2 separate regions of the Homo sapiens genome follow, and region 2 is linked to region 1. The links are contacts of gene promoters, found by promoter capture Hi-C in human tissues and cell types (Jung and others, 2019). All regions are on one chromosome and are shown on one strand. Each heading gives the region's core, a stretch centred on a gene start or on the middle of the fragment in contact. The rest is flanking DNA. Distances are from core to core; before and after follow the strand shown.

The links. Contacts are between HindIII fragments. The study calls those that stand out against the background at their distance.
Region 2: a contact is called between a fragment that was not itself captured here and the fragment with the promoter of DNAH11 in region 1, in 1 of the 25 tissues and cell types used here (neural progenitor cells).

Annotation. Positions count from the first base shown.
Region 1 is chr7:21,541,286-21,545,516 of GRCh38, forward strand. It overlaps DNAH11 (dynein axonemal heavy chain 11), which reads left to right and starts at 1,754. Exons shown (of 82, transcript NM_001277115.2): 1 at 1,754-2,311; 2 at 3,721-3,864. The coding sequence starts at 1,961. RefSeq lists enhancers at 1,076-1,577, 3,910-4,231 and a silencer at 1,626-1,675. The HindIII fragment of the contact is 7,632 bases long and covers 1-4,231 here.
Region 2 is chr7:21,486,285-21,490,515 of GRCh38, forward strand. The region is part of intron 5 of SP4 (Sp4 transcription factor); the gene reads left to right. Among named protein-coding and RNA genes, the nearest start is that of MIR1183, 17 kb to the left of the region's middle. The HindIII fragment of the contact is 6,302 bases long and covers 1-4,231 here.

The sequences.
Region 1 (4,231 bases), core at 504-3,003:
ATACATAAAACTTGGGAACAAGGTAAAGCCATGTTCATTCACTGTCACATTGAAACACTGCTTCACCGGCCAATGAAAGGATTATTAATTATTTAGGGAAAAGTATCTTTTTTGGACTCATTAACTACTACTGATCGAAGTCTCAAACTCTGAAGTTACGTTTTTATTTACAGATTTTTGTTCAATACAGATGTAATTTATTTTGGAAAAACAAATTATTTTTTAAAAAACAAAGGATTATTTTGCCCTGTATGACATTAGTGAGTGTTGTTTTGAACCTAGCAAGCTGACTCATCCTGTCTTCCTCCAATGCTGCTAAATTTCTTTCTCGAACTGTCCTTGGAACTTACATCATTTTGTTGCTTTCCTCATTTATGAGTTAAATCAATCTTTGACATATCTTCATCTTATATTTCGAGTTACATAGTTAACTTTTTGGAAATTGCACTTTAAAGTTAGCATCATTTAAAAAATTTTCCTGCTAGATTTGAAAGTGGTTATTCACTTTCAATTTAATTCAACTATTATTTACAGAATTCCCGGTTTTCTAGGTTACAGGGATGTGAAGCTGGAATATAAGAGGGGAGAGAAGGAACTGGTGATTGCCAGCCTTGTATACCAGCAACTGGGAGCCCCAAAGATTATTATGGACAATATAAAGCAGCCTTGACAGGTTAGAAGTCATTATCAAAGTTTTCCAAGGCCCTGTGTTATTTCAAGATTCTGATCACATAACTGGAAACTTGTCGATGGTTTTCAGGGGCAGTTAATATCCTGCAAAGAAAAAAATTGTTGAAGCCTCATCTTCTGGAAATGTCTGTCAACATTCAGGTATTAAATGGATTATTGTGGGCAACAGTCCTTCAGTAGCCCCCATGGAAGGGGTGGGGATTGAAGACTTTAGTTTGAAATAAACAATTAACAAAGGAGACTTAAAAGTTTAGTTGAGGACTCCTCCTCAAAATTCTGGTTGCTTTAATAATTAGAATTTCCATAAGAGTCTCAACGAAAGCCACTAATGGACCGCAGTGAAATCCTATTTCAGTATCATGAAACTGTTTTTAATCTGAAGCTTTTTCTCTTTGACCTTTTTACTCTTGAATTAAATGATAAATCTATAGATTTTCGGAACATTTTGGAGATCACGAAAGGGCACTGTGCGTTCTCTTACTGGGTGTACTGAAGTTCCAGTAAGTTTCAGGTTGAGGATGGCAATCAGGAGGACTTCGAATACTTAGATCTTGGATTCCCACAACTAGGAAAGTTGAATTGCAGGACTGGCTCTCTTCTGGTAATATTTGGACACCTTGGGAAAGGTGAATAACAGCCTTCAACTTGGGCCCCGAAACTTCTCTGTTACTTATTTTTGTAACTTAGTTCCTTGCCCATAAAACAAAGACTGACCAGTCAGAGACTTGGCTTTCTACGGATTATGTCAACTAGTCAAGGTAAGAGATTAGCACGGACCTTGGCACAAGAGAGCATTGCTTCATCCAGAGCACTTAACCAATGCTGGGATCTCCACCAAGTGTCCAGTAGGCGAAGGAGCCGGAGGGCAGTGGAGCGAGCGCACTGGGGGCTCAGACCCACCCCGGACACGCGGCTTCTCGGCCGTGTTCGGGACCTAGAGCCCGAGGGCCTCTCCCCTCGGCCTTGGCCTTGGCGTATACTGGGCGGTGGCGCGGTGCGCTCACTCCGCCCCCAGCGGGCTGGGGCGGGGACACCGTCCCCCGGGAAACGGGACGCGCTGCTTGTCCCAGGCCTTCGCTTCGGCCTGCGAGGCTACAGCTGTGCGCAGTGGCGCGGCTGCTAAGTAGCAGCAGGTGGGAGACTAGGGTCTGCGCTCGCGGCGACCGCGGAGGAGGGTGGGCGCCTGCGGAGGTGTCCTCGCTCACTTCGGGGGGCCCAGAGTCTCGGGTGAGGAGCCAGCCGGCCTCGCGTTCCCTCGGACGGTTGCCCAATGGCAGCCCAGGTGGCAGCCCGGGAGGCGCGAGACTTCAGAGAAGCCCCGACCCTTCGCCTAACCTCGGGGGCCGGCCTGGAGGCAGTGGGCGCTGTGGAGCTCGAGGAGGAGGAGGAGAACGAGGAGGAGGCGGCGGCCAGGAGAGCGCGGAGTTTCGCCCAAGACGCGCGGGTGCGCTTCCTCGGCGGCCGCCTGGCGATGATGCTGGGGTTCACGGAGGAGAAATGGAGCCAGTATTTGGAAAGCGAGGACAACCGGCAGGTTCTTGGGGAGTTTCTGGAAAGCACCAGCCCGGCTTGCCTTGTGTTTAGCTTCGCCGCCTCGGGGCGCCTTGCGGCTTCCCAGGAGGTAAGAGGCGACGGGCAAGGGGACCTGCCCATCCAACAAAACTACCCAGGGGAGACAGCCCAGTCGCTCCCCTTTGGATTCCCGCGGGGCGCTCACTCGGGCACTTTAACAAACTTGGCTTGAAGTCCCCATCCTGAGGCCCGCAGGACTCCTCCCCACGTGCACCCACTCTGCAGTTCAGCAGCTGCAGGTTAGTTTCCTAAGTCAGCAGTTTGTATCTGACCGAGAATCCCGCGTTGAGCCTGTTCGACCAGGATAACCCAAGAACACCAGCGCTTTCTTTAGCTGCTTGGGTGTTAGGCGCCAGGTGGGCTTTCTGTGCCAAAAAACTTGCGTTTCAGTTGCTCTTGGGTCACTCTGGAGTCACATCCTTTAAAAAATGGGGTGTTTGGCAGAGCGCATGTAACTCGTCACGTATTTTGATTACGTGCCAACAACACTTCACCCCAGGCAAAAACATTAAGTCCTTAAAAAGGAAGGCCCCTGCAATCTCCGCACACATGGGTGTTTACTGAACATTTAGAGGGAACAGTTCCCTCCTTTCTTCTTTTTCTTCCTTTTCTTTTTGAATTTCGATGATTTGTCCACTAAAAGGTTAACGTATCACCTAACGTACAGCACTTGTATTTAGTATTTTTCAAGTATGATGAGTTTGGAGCAAGATTCACAATTTTTAAGTAGCGCAATGCTCAGTTTAACATGTTATGTCGTTTTATCACTAGGTGTGGTCATTGTAATAGTTGGGAAATAGGATCTCAGAGAAGAAAGAGTAATAGGAAGGCTGCCTTATGGTATTGTGAATTTTGAATTCTTTTGTTTTAGGACTCTCCTAATTGTAACTTTAAAAAAAATAAGTTTGTCAGTAGACAAGGCGATAGAACACAACTCTAGTATTACCTAAGTTAAATAGTTATTATAATGTTCAATGGAATGACTCAGTAGTTGTGGAAATGTTAGCATGTTTTGGTTATACGGTTCTATTCTTTGATAGAAATACAAATTAACCTCTTGGGCTTGTCTTTATCTCAGTTTGGCTTATTTCCAAACCAGAGAAGAGTATAAAAAATAACCCTTTAGGATTGAAACATTTCTACATGCCTACGTGCTCCTTATTTGTTTTTAGTTATAAGATTTTTTTTTTGGTGTATAATGAACTGGTATAATTGGCATGCCTTTAAAAGGTGATATTTCCACACCAGTAATGCTGTGAAATTAGCATTATAAAAGAACAAAGAAAACTGTATACTCGCTGCATACTAGGGAAGAGCCGTAGAAGGACCTTGTTTATAGGGCAGGCAAGATGCCAGGTTTTGTTTCTTCTGCTAGCAATACAGCTACAAGTTGGATATAGTAAATCCTGCTTGTTAACAAGAAAACTACTTGAACTAATTATCTTGCTCTTGTTTTAGATTCCAAGAGATGCAAACCATAAACTTGTTTTTATTTCCAAGAAGATTACTGAAAGCATTGGAGTAAATGACTTTTCTCAAGTGGTTTTATTTGGAGAGTTACCTGCGTTGTCTCTTGGACATGTATCTGCTTTCCTTGATGAGGTACTGGTCTGTCTTTAATATTTAAAGCTTTCACTTATCTCCATGACATTTGAAATTATTTAGGACAACTCCGATAATTAAAAAAAGAAGAGCTAGGAGGGGAAGGGAAGGGGATGGGGGTGGTTAAAAAAAAAAAAAAAAAAAAAAGCTTGTAGAAGCCAGGAGTCTCTAGCCAGGTGGATGGAGTCATAACATCTAGACTGTTCCTGAAAGGAGCTCATGCTTACTGATGCTAATATTCAACAGGTGGCAATTGCAGGGATCATTCTCTCCCTTTCTTCCTTCCAACACAATAGAAGCAAATAAAAAGCAACTTGAATAGGTTCTTGCACCTTAGCAGCAGGTTTTAAGCTTCACATTCAGAGTA
Region 2 (4,231 bases), core at 1,112-3,611, 54 kb before region 1:
ATCATTCACCAAGCTTCCCTTATTGTAAACTTCTTGTATAACCACAGTACCTTATGAGAATTAAGAAATTAACATTGTTGCAATACTATTAATTACACTTTCCACCAATATACCTTTTCTTTTCCAGGATTCAGTCTGGAATAACACACTGCATTTGTTTGTCATGTTTCCTTAGTCTCCTGCAATCTGTGACTTTTCCTAGTCCTTTCCTTGTCTTTTATCACCTGGACACATTTGAAAGTGGTTTTGGTATTTTTAGAATGTCTGTCACATTGGGTTTGTCTAATGTTTTCTAATGATTAGAGTAAGATTGTGAATTGTCATGAGAAGAATAGCACATTAGTGTCTTTCTCTTATCATATAAGAGGAAGTATGTAATGTGATTATCTCATTATTGGTGATGTTAACCCTGATGTATTGGTTAATGTAGGGTGTGCCACATTTCTTCACTGTAAAGTTACAGTTTCTCTCTTTCCATATTGTTTGTTAGAAGCAAGTCACTAAGTTCAGTCGACATTCAGGGGGAAGAGAACTAAGCTTCACCTCCTGAAGGGAGAAGTATCGAAGAATTTGTGGACATATGTTAAAACCACCACAATAATTACTATTTTAGAGGAGTTTGGGGGGCTTTTTTACAAATAAAATACTAAAGCTTCACTTTTAGCATTCCTCAGTGGATCTTGCCTGCAGCAGTTATTACTGTGATGTTTGAAAGGTCATTTTCAATTTTCCTTGTTCTTTGTACCACTTATACTTTCTTCTCCAATTATTTATGCAATCATTTATTTACATTGGTATGGTCTCATGAGTAGTTCTTTTGTTCTTTGGGTTATAATTCAATACTATCATTTTCTTGCTCAAATTGTTTCACCTTTGGCCATTGGAAGGTCTTTCACATTAGTTCCTGTGTCTTCTTGAAGTGCCCCTGTTTTGTTTTTAACGCTAAGGGCGCCTTTTAATCTGTGGTGTGCTGCTAATTTCATAATGCTGTATCTGAGAATAGATTTTTATTTGTTGTGCTAATGACTTGTACTCTGGGTCACCTCTCTCCCTCTCTCTCTCTTTCTCTGTCTCTCTCTCTCTGTCTCTCTGGGCTCTTAGTAGACATATTTTGGAATCTCTAGGGTTTTTTTTTTTTTTTTGGTCTTACAGTTTTTCTCTTATATCTTTTGTCTCATTACCATTTTATTTTCCATGAAATTTTTTAAGTTTACTTTCAGATATTTCTATTGAATTGCATTTTAATTTCCAATAGTGTATTCCATCATTGTTGGTGGGTTTTGTTTTGTTTTACTGCATTTTGTTCTCATTGTATGGATGCAGGTGCTTGCTGAAATTATCTCAGTTTTTTAATCTAGAATTTTATGTTTCCTCCAGGATGATTTTTTTGTCTGTATCTTTTTCCAGTGTTGTAGGCGTTCCTGAATTGTCCAGTGATTCTTTGTTTTTGTTCAAGTTGATGATGATGATGATGATGATGGTGGTGGTGGTGGTGGTGGTGGTGGTGGTGGTGGTCATGGTGGTGATTTGATGAAATCTTAAGTGAAAGATTTTGAAAACTTTATGAGCTAGTGGCGTTTTGTTTTGGTTTTTTTGAGACAGGGTCTCTGTCTGTCACCAGGCTGGAGTTCACTGGCACGATCACAGCTCACTGCAACCTCCTCCACCTCCCAGGCTCAAGTGATCCTCACACCTCAGCCTCCCGAGTAGCTGGGACCACAGGTGCATGCCACCACACCTGGCTAATTTTTCTATTTTTTGCAGAGACAGATTTTTCTCAGTGTTGCCCAGGCTGGTGTTGAACTCCTGAGCTCAAGCAATCCATCCTCCTCAGCCTCCTGGAGTGTTGGGATTATAGGTGTGAGCCACTGCCTCTGCCAAGCTAGTGGCTTTTATTTTAGGTAACTGGGTGGAACACTGTGTTACACTGGAAGATGCCTAATTACCAAAATACAATAATATGCTGTGCAACCATGTTTTTTTAAGATACAAATCTTTAATATTAACATTTTGCCCCAATTTTTTGATAGTAGTTATAGTCTATGTATGGACTTTAATTTTGTTTTATGTTCCATGTCTCCCTCCCAGCAGAAGACATTGACTGTCTTCTAGAACATATTCTCTTCCTTGACAATTTATTTTCTAGTTTGCAGACATTTGATATAATCATTGTTTTGCTGATGGACTTCCTTTCCTTTTTTTTTTTTTTTGTTATTGTAGATTTAACCCTTTTATGCCTTTACTATTATTTTAATGGGTGTCTCAGTGGGGAGAATAAACAAACACATGTAATCATGCTGCTCTCTTAAACTTTAAAGGGTTACATTTAGCCAGGTGCAGTAGTGCACACCTATAGTCCCAGCTACTCAGGAGGCTGAGGCGGGAGAACTGCTTGTGCTAGGAGTTCGAGGCTATAGTGCCTATGATCCCGTGAATAGCCACTGCACTCCAGCCTGGGCAATATAACAAGACCCCGTCTCTTAAAAAAAAAATACTGATAACTTGGAAATACTATAATGATACAACTAAATGGATAATGTCTATAATAACGATGTCATATAGATATGCACACTTTTATGTTACATGTGTTAATATAGTGTACTTTGTGAATATTTTATTGTAGATACTTTGCCTACTTACTGGACTGTTTTATTTGCCATTCATAATCCACTTAGAAGTAAGGCAATCTAGGGATGATTTTTAGCAACTAGTGTTATAGGGATCTTTAACCAGATCTCAAATTCTTTTTCACCAGCTAAGAAAAAATCCTTTTCAAAAGAGCCCCTAAAAAGTCTTGTGCAACTGCAGTATAGGTTCTTTATAATATATGACGACTTAGTGTTTTAGCCAAGATACAATTTTATATAAAGTTAAATGTATTTATAATTGTATCAATAATTATAAGCTTAAGTGGAAATGAAACAGATTCTGTAAAATTCATTTGGGAATGAAACTTCAATTTTTTTAACAAAATAAGGAATATTTGATCAAAACAGATGAAACAGAAAACTCCATCAATTTCGTTGAAGTTTTCTCACAGAATTTTGTTGTTGTTGTTGTTGCTGAGACCATGTCACCCAGGCCAGAACGCAGTGATGTGATCATAGCTCACGGCAGCCTTGACCTCCTGGGCTCAAGCAGTCCTCCCACCTCAGCTGCCTGAGTAGCTGGGACTTGCAGGCCTACACCACTACACCTAGCTAATTTTTTTTTTTTTTTAAAGGTGGGTTTTTGCTATGTTGCCCAGGCTGGTCTTTTTTTCTTTTTTCTTTTTTTTTTTTTTTTTTTTTTTTGAGATGGAGTCTCGCTCTGTCACCCAGGCTGGAGTGCAGTGGCATGATCTTGGCTCACTGCAAGCTCCGCCTCCTGGGTTCATGCCATTCTCCTGCCTCAGCCTCCCGAGTAGCTGGGACTACAGGCGCCCGCCACCACACCCGGCTAATTTTTTGTATTTTTAGTAGAGATGGGGTTTCACTGTGTTAGCCAGGATGATCTCAATCTCCTGACCTTGGATCCACCCGCCTCGGCCTCCCAAAGTGCTGGGATTACAGGCGTGAGCCACTGTGCCCAGCCCCAGGCTGGCGTTAAACTCCTATCCTCAAGTGATCCTCCCACCTCAGCCTCTCAAAGTGCTGGGATTATAGGTGTGAGCCACAGTGCCCAGCCCCAGAATTTTCTTATATAAATGTTTTAATTAGTATGTGAAACATCAAAACTGTTGCCCTTTGTGTCCACTGTTGGCCAGAATGGACCAAGTTATCTACAACTTGTCTGTTCCATTGACTACACTAAAAACTCTGGACAAGTTTACTTATTTGTTTTCTTAAGTATCTAAATGAGGACAATGAAAAGCAAACTATAGCAGGCAATTGAGAAATGAAGTGAAAACTTGAATTTGAATAACAGTGTATCATATGTGTTCATTTCATAGAGATCTTTTTCCCTCCTTTGTCTCCCAGGTTTAACCCTGCGGGCACTGCATAGCAGGTGCAGGTAGCAAACAATCTAAGAGAAACCTCTTGTATCTAACCAGAAAAGCAAGAAAAGGGGCCTTTTGCTCCAAAACCAGTTCCATTTGCAGATTACACTGAAATAGTAGCAGCTTAGGCACCAAAAAATCTCTAGAAAATACCCATATCTCTGGCTAGGGGAACTAGAAAATAGAGTCTGTTTTCCAAGAAATCTGAGGTAAATCAACATCATTTTTCTGTCTTGCCACTTCTACTCTGAA